Regions from separate parts of the Homo sapiens genome. Here all the other regions are linked to region 1. Evidence: promoter capture Hi-C in 16 types of primary human blood cells and fetal thymus (Javierre and others, 2016). All regions are on one chromosome and are shown on one strand. Each heading gives the region's core, a stretch centred on a gene start or on the middle of the fragment in contact. The rest is flanking DNA. Distances are from core to core; before and after follow the strand shown.

Evidence for each region. The method cuts DNA at HindIII sites, captures the fragments that hold promoters and counts their contacts. A CHiCAGO score of 5 or more calls a contact.
Region 2: a contact is called between a fragment that was not itself captured here and the fragment with the promoter of VASH2 in region 1, in 1 of 17 cell types (M1 macrophages). The highest score is 5.1, in M1 macrophages.
Region 3: a contact is called between a fragment that was not itself captured here and the fragment with the promoter of VASH2 in region 1, in 1 of 17 cell types (total B cells). The highest score is 5.4, in total B cells.

Annotation. Positions count from the first base shown.
Region 1 is chr1:212,948,752-212,952,074 of GRCh38, reverse strand. VASH2 (vasohibin 2) reads right to left here and starts at 1,534. Exons shown (of 8, transcript NM_001301056.2): 1 at 1,335-1,534; 2 at 257-736. The coding sequence starts at 532. RefSeq lists enhancers at 829-878, 1,399-1,548. The HindIII fragment of the contact is 4,785 bases long and covers 927-3,323 here.
Region 2 is chr1:212,809,267-212,812,647 of GRCh38, reverse strand. TATDN3 (TatD DNase domain containing 3) reads right to left here. Exons shown (of 10, transcript NM_001042552.3): 9 at 320-400. Among named protein-coding and RNA genes, the nearest start is that of TATDN3, 19 kb to the right of the region's middle. The HindIII fragment of the contact is 174 bases long and covers 1,753-1,926 here.
Region 3 is chr1:212,695,939-212,699,513 of GRCh38, reverse strand. It overlaps BATF3 (basic leucine zipper ATF-like transcription factor 3), which reads left to right. Exons shown (of 3, transcript NM_018664.3): 2 at 2,449-2,553. Among named protein-coding and RNA genes, the nearest start is that of BATF3, 2.1 kb to the left of the region's middle. RefSeq lists a silencer at 1-376. The HindIII fragment of the contact is 1,853 bases long and covers 1,368-3,220 here.

The DNA of each region.
Region 1 (3,323 bases), core at 285-2,784:
AAAGACACCTTGGCACAATCCAATTACACAGTCCCAGGATAGCAAGCCCGCTACCTCTCCCTTCCCCATTTCTTAGGCTTCCAATCTAAATATCTCAATTAGAAAAGGGCTGGCAGGAAGGAATGGGGAGAGGAAGGGAGTTTGTAGCAGGACTAGGAAAATGGAGATTGCCTGTGTTTGCTATGTATAGGCTGAAACGGTCCCATCGCTGCCTACCTACCCCCAGCCCCCCAACTCCGCCCTGGAAGCCACTGACCTTTGCCAAGAAGGCGGCGTTCCTGATGGCGCCCACCATTTCTCCCCCCTTAGGGTGCACCTTGGCCACGTGCATCCACATGCGCTCCCAGGTGTGGCTGTCGATGGGGAAGCCGCTCTTGTTGACGTGGAACAGCACCCCGCCGTCTTTGTCCTCCTCCTCTGAGCCCCCGCTGGTGGCGAGGCTCACGGGCCGCGCGTGGCTGCTCCGGGACCGGGTGCCTTTGGCGCCTTTGGGGTGGGGGCAGCGGTGAGTGTCGGCCGCGGAGCCGGTCATGGTGGGGCCTGGGCGGGGAGCGAGGTACTGGGGGCGCGCGGCGGCGGCAGCGGCGGCGGCGGCGGGGGGCGTGTGCGCGCGGGCGCGGCGAGGGGATCAGCGCCCCGCGGGGGCGGCCTTCTCCATGCCTCTCGCTGCGGCAGGACTCACCAAGGGGGAGCGGCGGCGGGAGCTCCGCGGAGGCTCCCTGCTTACCGGCGGTGCCTGAAATCAGCGGAGACACAGCTGACACCACAGCTAAGTGGACGCACAGCGGAACCGAGTGAGGGGTCCCGGAGTGTCTCCACGACACTCCCCGCTCCCCCCTGCACGCTGACAGCCTCCCTGAGAATCGATGACGGGCTTCCAGCCCTGCGATTACCTAGAAAGGCAGCTCAAAATGTGCCACGAAGCTTCACACACACCTAAACCCGGGGGGTTGGGGATGGAGGGGCACAAGGAGCTTGGGGGATGCGGAGCGCAAGATGTGGGGAGAAGAAAGACAGCTTGTGTAGCATGAAGGAACAGGAGGTTCCCGCAAGGCTCCACACATTCCTGGGTCCTCAGATGTGGCCAAGAGAGGAGGGGAGCCACGAACGTGCTGGCATGTGAGCGCCCAGAGCTGGCGCGAGGGCGCTGCAGCAGCCTTGGCTTGCAAGGCGGCCCGCTTTCTTCCAGGAAGCCCTCCCGGACCCCGGCGGGGATCTAGTGGAAAGAGCTCCATCCGCCCCCTTTTCCCCGAGTTCCAGCGCCTATCACCGGGAGGGACTGGCTGCAGGCGGGCGGCGCGCAGGAAGGGCGCGCGGCAGCTCCAAGATCCTACCTCGGGACGGTTGGCTTCATGGCTGCAGAGCCTCTCCGGGCGGCGGGAGAGCAGGGGCTGCTGCTGCTGCTGCTGGGCCTGGGGCTGGGGCTGGGGCTGCTGGGGCTTGCTGGGGCCGTCGCCTCATTCCATGTCCCATTCTCGAATGTTATTCTGTGACATATAACCAAGTCACCCGGGCAGCCGCCGATGTTCCGAATGCGTCTATTGGCCACCGCAACAAAGAGGGGCGGGTCCCGGGCTCGGGACTCTACAACCCCGGGCTCCGCGACGCTCTGATTGGCTCCAGGGGTTCTCTGGCGGGAGGGGACAGGAGTAGGGGGAGCCTGGCGGCCACGCGAAATCCGATCGCTGTGGTGTCCTGAGAGCCCCGCGGGCTGGAGCGTTTGGCCATGGGACTTAAGATCGAGTTTCCCCAGGGGTCGTGGCACTTCGAGGGTTTGCAACTGTGGAAGCAGAGGAGAAACAAAACCACCCGAGAAGTGACCCCGCGGAAGCAGAGGGTTTGGCATCAGAAGAGCATTCCCTGAGGGACGCTGGACACACTTACCTGCCTCTACCCGGGATGATGAGTTGTTCATCCTCTACCTGGGATGATGAGGGGCTGTTCATACCTATGCGTGAAATTAAATCTTTTTTAAATCCCGCATTTAAAAATTCCTCAAAATTAACAAGTGGGTGCAGCTTTGGATCCTCTGGTATTAGTCATGGTTAATAAAGTCCCTTTAAGCCCAAGTTGAGAGGAGACAATAAAACTCAAGAGGTCAGGCAGGCCCTGACTGTTCTGCCACAGCTGTTGAGTGAGAGGAGGGATGGAGAGATGCTTCCAAACCATGGTGAAGTGGGTGGCTATCCCACACTCACTACTGAAACACCTTCTCTTTCTTTTTCTTTAAGAAAGAGGAGAGCAGGTTGAGGTGGGAAGAGCACCAGACTGCTGACCTGAAGGCTGGCTCCTGGTCCAGGTTTGTCACTTTGCTCAGCTGTGTGACCCTGGACAAGCCACTTCCCTGCTCTGGGCCTTAGCTTCTCTTTCTGAAAGGAGAGCAGACCTCCCGCTCTCCAGGGTCTGTTCTGGCTGTAAGGTTCTGTGATTCCCTGACTTCCTCTCTTGTGACACTGAGGATCCTGGCCATAGCATCCTTTCTCTTTAAACTGCAGGCCAGCAGGCCAGCTCTGAGCAAAGCAGTTATGAGACCTATGCTAAGTGAACCTTGAATTAAGAAGACAGTTGTCAAAGTGCCACTGATGGCGGGTCAGTTTCTGGATGCTTATCCTGACAAGTTGCCTGTCATGGAACTGGAACTTCTCTTCCACAGGAGGGCAGAGACCCCTGAGGGGTAGTTGAGAGCCAGGGCTTGGGTGAGGAGACCTGGATTCTGGACTTAGCCCTGCACTGCTCCCTGAGACAGAGCCCATGCCAAGAACTTTATAGATTCAATAATGAGAATAGGGCAGACGTGGTGCCTCACACCTTTAAACCCAGCACTTTGGGAGAAAGAGGAGGAAGGATTACTTGAGGCCAGGAATTAGAGACTGGACCAACATAGCGAGACCTTGTCTCTACTAAATAAATATTTTGAAATTAGCCAGATGTGGTGGCACACACCTGTAGTCCCAGCTACTCAAAAGGCTGAAGTGGACATGTAGAATGAAACTGGATCCTCGTCTCTCACCTTACACAAAAATCAACTCCAGATGGATCAAAGACTTAAGTCTAAGACCTGAAACCATAAAAATTCTAGAAGATAACATGAGAAAAACACTTCTAGACATTAGCTCAGGCAAAGAAATCATGACTAAGACCTCAAAAGCAAATGTAACAAAAATGAAAATAAATAAATGAGACCTAATTAAACTAAAAAGGGTCTGCACAGCAAAAGAAATAATCAGCGGAGTAAACCGACAATCCACAGAGTGCGAGCAAATATTCACAAACTGTGCATCTGACAAAGGACCAGTATCCAGAATCTACAAGGAACCCAAACA
Region 2 (3,381 bases), core at 590-3,089, 140 kb after region 1:
GTAGCTTGCCCAAAGTCAGCTACTAGGTAGATAACAGGATTTGAATTTGTCTTTCTGACTGCAGACACTGTGCTTTTTACTACACTGGTCTGACTCTTATTATTACATACATTAGGACATGCTTCATTATCAAATAATATTCTCTGGAGTGCAACAGCTATATTTAGAAAGACCTGAAATAAAGTTAATATAAGCCCTCAATCTGGCAGTATATGAGGATTCCACTGTATTTACACTATAATGAGAAATACAGCTAAATTGAAAAGAACTCAAATGAAAGATACAATCTAAATAATATAGAAATTAGAAAACCATTTACCTGTTTTTCTGGTCCTAGTGCAGGTGAATCTGTTTCTAAGCATATAGAAGTTAAAGGCAATTGTTTCACAAGTTTCTGCTTCTTAGAGAAAAGAGAAAGCAGCTAAGTTTAAAACATGAGAAATAAAGATAAAGAGCATTAAATTGACATACTAATAATGCATTTTATTCTGCAATAACTTAAAATTTATGCTTTAGGCTGGGCGCGGTGGCTCACGCCTGTAATCCCAGCACTTTGGGAGGCCGAGGCGGGTGGATCACGAGGTCAGGAGTTCAAGACCAGCCTGACCAACATGGTGAAACCCCGTCTCTGCTAAAAATACAAAAATTGCCAGGCACAGTGGCTCATGCTTGTAATCCCAGCACTTTGGGAGGCCGAGGCAGACAGAACATAAGGTCAGGAGTTCAAGACTAGCCTGGCCAACATGGTGAAACCCCATCTCTACTGAAAATACAAAAATTAGCCAGGCATGGTGGCAGGCACCTGTAATCCCAGCTACTCAGGAGGCTGAGGAAGAAGAATCACTTGAACCCGGGAGGTGGAGGTTGCAGTGAGCCGAGATCACCCCACTGTACTCCAGACTGGGCAGCAGAGCAAGACTCCATCTCAAAAAAAAAATAATAATAATAATAAAATAAAAATACAAATACAAAAATTAGCCAGGCAAGGTTGCAGTGAGCCGAGATCACGCCACTGTACTCCAGACTGGGCAACAGAGCGAGACTCCGCCTCAAAAAAAAATTATTTTTTACTATTCAACTGATAGGCCGGTTGTGGTAGCTCGCGCCTGTAATCCCAGTACTTTGGGAGGCTGAGGTGGGTGGGTCACTTGAGACCAGGAGTTCGAGACCAGCCTGGGCAACATGATAAAACCCCATCTCTACTGAGAATACAAAAATTAAGCCGGGGTGGTGGCTCATACCTGTCCAGCACTTTGGGAGGCCAAGGCAGGCTGATCACTTGAGATTGGAAGTTCGAGACCAGCCTGACCAACATGGTGAAACCCCGTCTCTACTAAAAATACAAAAATTAGCCGGGCGTAGTGGTGGCTGCCTGTAATCCCAGCTACTCGGGAGGTTGAGGCAGAATCACTTGAACCCGGGAGGCAGAGGTTGCAGTGAGCTGAGATCGCGCCACTGCACTCCAGCCTAGCCAGAGTGGAAAAAAAAAATACAAAAATTAGCCAGGCATTGTGGTACACGCCTGTAATCCCAGGTACTCGGAAGGCTGAGGCAGGAGAATTGCTTGGACCTGGGAGGCGGAGATTGCAGTGAGACAAGATCACATCACTGCACCCCAGCCTGGGCGACAGAGTGAGACTCTGCTTCAAAAAAACAATTCAATTGATAAATGCTAACTGGATGTTCTCATAATTCCACTACTAAAAGTTATGTTAAAATATAAACACTAATTCCTAAAAATTATCCAAAGCTTCTAGGGAAACCAAAGAATAGTAACCATAGCAAAAATGAGGTATACCCAGCAAGCAGAAATCCAAACATCTGGTATCATGTGCCGACATTGACAAGGAAGTGATTTCTGTTGTTTCTCCACCCTCATCACATTCAGTGTTTCTTTCTAACATCCACTTTAAGGCACTCAAAGCTTTATGTTTATAAATCTAAGGGTTTTGTTTGTTTTTGAGACACAGTCTGGCTCTGTCACTCATGTTGGAGTGGAGTGGCACGTACTCGGCTCACTGGACCCTCCATCTCCTGGGCTGAAGACATCCTCCCACCTCAGCCTCCCAAGTAGTTGGGACTATAGGCACACACCACCACACTCGGCTAATTTTTTTTTTTTTTTTTTTTTTTTTTGAGACAGAGTCTCGCTCTGTCACCCAGGCTGGCGTGCAGTGGCGCGATCTCGGCTCACTGCAAGCTCCGCCTCCCGGGTTCACGCCATTCTCCTGCCTCAGCCTCCCAAGTAGCTGGGACTACAGGCGCCCACCACCATGCCCGGCTAATTTTTTGTATTTTTAGTAGAGACGGGGTTTCACCATGTGAGCCAGGATGGTCTTGATCTCCTGACCACGTCGTGATCCACCCGCCTTGGCCTCCCAAAGTGCTGGGATTACATGCGTGAGCCACCGCGCCCTGCCTTCACTCGGCTAATTTTTATATGTTTTGTAGAGACAGGGTTTCGCCATATTGCCTAGGCTGTTCTCAAATTCTTGAGCTCAGGTGATCCGCAACCCTTGGCCTCCCAAAGTGCTGAGGTCACAGATATGAGCCTCCGTGCCTGGCCCAAATCTAAGGTTCTTATGCAATTTAAATTTTATTTTTTTATTAATTAATGTATTTATTTTTGAGATGGAGTCTCTGTCGCCCAGGCTGGAGTGCAGAAGCGCGATCTCAGCTCACTGCAACATCTGCCTCCTGGGTTCAAGTGATTCTCCTGCCTCAGCCTCCTGAGTAGCTGGGATTATAGGCATGCGCCACCACACCCAGCTAATTTTTGTATTTTTAGTAGAGAAGGGGTCTCACCATGTTGGCCAGGCTGGTTTTGAACTCCTAACCTCAGGTGAACTGCCTGCTTTGACCTCCGAAAGTGCTGGGATTACAGGTGTGAGCCACAGTGCCTAGCCCAATTTAAATTTTAGATTGGGTTGTGGATGGTTTTCTTTTTTCTTTTTTTTTTTTTTGAGACGGAGTCTCGCTCTGTCACCCAGGCTGGAGTGCAGTGGCGCGATCTCGGCTCACTGCAGGCTCTGCCCCCCCGGGTTCACGCCATTCTCCTGCCTCAGTCTCCCGAGTAGGTGGGACTACAGGCGCCCACCACCATGCCTGGCTAATTTTTTGTATTTTTAGTAGTGACGGGGCTTCCCCGTGTTAGCCAGGATGGTCTCGATCTCCTGACCTCGTGATCTGCCCGCCTCGGCCTCCCAAAGTGCTGGGATTACAGGCATAAGCCACTGCGCCCGGCCTAGTTTTTAATTTTTAAAGCTATAATTCACATAACCATAATATTCACTCTTTAAAAGTACACAATCCAGTGTTTTTTGCTATATTCACAAAATTGTACAATCATCACCATTATCTAGTTCTGGAATATTTTCATCA
Region 3 (3,575 bases), core at 1,045-3,544, 250 kb after region 1:
GGGAATGGGGGCGATCCAGGGACCCTGTCGTGCGCACAGTGTCCGCGGCTCCTGGAATGGCTCCTGAGCCAGCTCCTGCGCCCTCTGGGGGAAGAAGCCCGAGGGCGCCGACGCCTGGCTGGGCCGGGCATGGCCGGTGCTCCCCGGCACGTGGGCTCCGCACTGCCCTGAGGGCCGCCCCATCCTGGCGCAGCCAGCGACTGCCACCCCACCACCCGCGCCTGTAGCCCCTCCAGGATTCCCCCGGGTGGGGGGGGTGCTGCCGCGGGAATGGAGAACGCCGGACTAGTCAGCCTGGGCGGAGGGAACCCACAAAGGGCCGACTCCGCCCCCAGCTGGTGGAAACCCTTTGCCCCTTCCCAGTTCGCTGTCCCCTAGCAACGTTTACAGCGGCGCAGTCAGGAAGGAGACCAGGTTGGCCACAGGGACGGCCGTCTGGAAACTTTGCCTGGGTCTTGGCCACCTGCCTTACGACGAAGACTGGGTCTTTTCATCCTTACTCCCCACCTTCCCAATTCAGCGCCCGGCCCATGTCATCAGGTGTCGCTGGAGTGTCACAGAGATCTGAGTTTGGGCCTGGGCTTTGCCACACACAGGCTGAGCAGCCTTGAGCAATTTGTTTAACCTCTCGGACCGTCCATTTCCCCATCTGTAAAATGAATATAGTAACATCAACCTCTCAGGATTTTTGAGACTGAATCAGATATGGTTAATAACATAATACTATCTCTAACTTTCGCTCACCTCTTTCTGTCTTGATTAAATGTTTCTGCTGGGTTGGCAGGTGTGATCATGGTGATGAGTCCAGTTTAGAGTCAGCTCCCCGAGGGCAGTATGCAGGCTGCTTTCTTGTGCTAGTGACTTTTTGATTACAGAGAGCAAAGAGGCATGAGAAGCACTATGCAGAATACATTTTTTTTTAAAGTAGCAACTTCAACAAAGGCAGGTAACTTCTTGAGGGCATACTGTATGCTGGGAGCTTTAGGACAAAATCTCATTTCATCGCATCCCAATCCTAAGCATTAGGCTGTTAGCACCAAGTCTGCAGAGTTCACTGACCCTTTGTTTAGGGCTTGTATCCCCAGTGTCTAGAACAGTGTCTGGCACATGGTAGGTGCTCAGTTAATACATATTGAAAGAATGAATGAATTATGCTTACAATAAATGAGAAAACTGAAAATTTAGAGAATTTAAACCATTTACACAAGACCATGTTGACACTAAGAGACAAAACTAGGATCTGTGTGATTCTAAAGCTAAAGAGCTGTCTTCTAACCACATGTTCCCCTGTAATGTTCTGGTTTTGTTTATCAAGACTTCTTTGCCTCTCTAGAAGACTGTATTATCATACTTTGTTCCCTTAAGCTTCTATTTGCTATGTATGTTATTTATTCCTCTCCTTTTTATGCCTTTATATTCTTGCATATCTGAAACTTCTTACCTGCAGTAACTTGGGAAGATGTGTGTCTTATGTGGAATACAAGATGAGATCAAATGATAACTGAAAATATCCTTTTTTGTGTTATTAATATTTGCATTCCGTGAATATTAATAACTGAGTAGTTTTCCTTGTTTGTACCTCTTGGCTCTTAAACTCTGTAAGTGTGGTATTTTTCCCGCTTGGTGGTGTCTTCTCATGGGGTTCTAGAAAGCAAATACTGCTCTCCTTTTTCATGTTTTCTATAGCTGATTGAAGTGTTTTTACCATGGTCAGTGCATTTTTCCGCCTGCCTGTTTCATGATCACTATTGAGGGATTTGACTGAATTTGGTTAAATCTTACATATAGCTAACAGCTTTCAAGACACATAAAAAATTTGCTGACTTCTGAAACAAAATGTCAGCCAAGCATTGTTCAAATGAGTACACTGTCAGTGGGGTTTAAGATCATTTGGTGTGTTGGTAGAGTTATGTGGCTGCAATTAGTTGTAAGTGTAATCATGATTTGCATGCAGTATCAAAAGTACCTTTCATGTGTGGTGGTATAAGGACTGGCAAACAGCAAGTTCCAGATAGCAGATCTCTCCACCGCCCCCCACCCCCACCCAGCTTTCCAGTCTCAGATGGACGACATTGACACCACAGCTCTTCCAGGCACACGCCCTGTGGGCTAGAGGTTTATGAACGTTGATTTGGAGACCAACAGACCTGAGTTCCACTTCCCACTCACCCACTTAGTGGCTGTAATACCTGGAGCAAGGTCCTTAACCTCTCTGAGTTTCTTATTCCTCATCTTTTAAACGGCGGTCACACCACACACTTCACACACTCACATGGTGAGTGCTCCTGGGCAAGGGGCTGTTGTGAGCCCATTGGTATAGCAACTAGTGGTGCTGTCTACTGCAAAGCAAATGATGAAGCTCAGTGAACAACGCTGAGTGATGAGACAGGGCAGAAAAGGGTAAGGCGAGGGGCCACGACATCACACCCACCCAGTGTTTTTCCCCAGAGCCCTGAGGATGATGACAGGAAGGTCCGAAGGAGAGAAAAAAACCGAGTTGCTGCTCAGAGAAGTCGGAAGAAGCAGACCCAGAAGGCTGACAAGCTCCATGAGGTGAGACCGTGGTAGGGGCAAGCCACCTTAGAGCCACACAGCCTCTGCCTTGCACGGGAGTGGGGGTGATGACTGTTCTCTTTATCACGATTTCAGCAACACTCATATCTAATTTCTGCCAGGTCCTTCCAGCCCAGTGTTCTCACTGTTTGCTCACGGACGTGTTCATTTCTCCCTCATCCACTGAGTGCTTCTCATGGTCAAGTTTATTTCATTATAAAACAAAACAGAGCCTCTTCTGGACCCTGATTCCCTTTCAAGTTCTTGCTCCATTTCTTTTCTTCCCTCACGTCCTTACTTCCTGTTTTGTTTTGTTTCCCTCCAAAGTAATCCGCTAACATCTTTGCTTCTTAAAAAAGAGTAGTTACACCTGTTGTCTCTGTGTCCCTGGTTCCTGGTTATTCCCCAATCCTCTGTGATTTAATTTCTGCTACCCCCTTTCCACTCAACACACATATATATACACACAAACAAACACACACATTCACACATGTACCCAATGTGTGTGTGTACACACACACACACACACACACACACCCTACAGAAACTGCTCCCATTGCAGCCATCAGTGCCCTGGCACTGCCCTATCCAGGACTCTCTTTCTGGTCTCATCATCCTTTACCTTGTTAGAACATTCGACACTTTGGACCCATCTCTTCTTAAAGCTTTCCCCTCTTTTGCTTCTAAAAGACCACATTTCCTAGTTTTCCTAACCCTCTTCGCCGATTTTTTTCTCTATTTCTTTGTTAGCCTTCGACCCTTTATTGGCTTAAATGTTGGTGGTGACCAGTGTTTCAAACTCTGCCCTTTTTTTTTTTTCTCACCCTGGAAGACTTAATCTATTAATCTGTTCTCCCAGCATCAGCTCCCAACATTGATTACTCCAGGCAGGCCCTCTGTCCTGGACCCTAGACCCCATAGCTTCAGTGTCTGCTGAGCTGTTTCTCCATGGGTCCACTGCAGGCTCCTGTGATGTACCACATCCATAAAAGAGTGTTATTGTCCGTTTACCCTGAGACTTT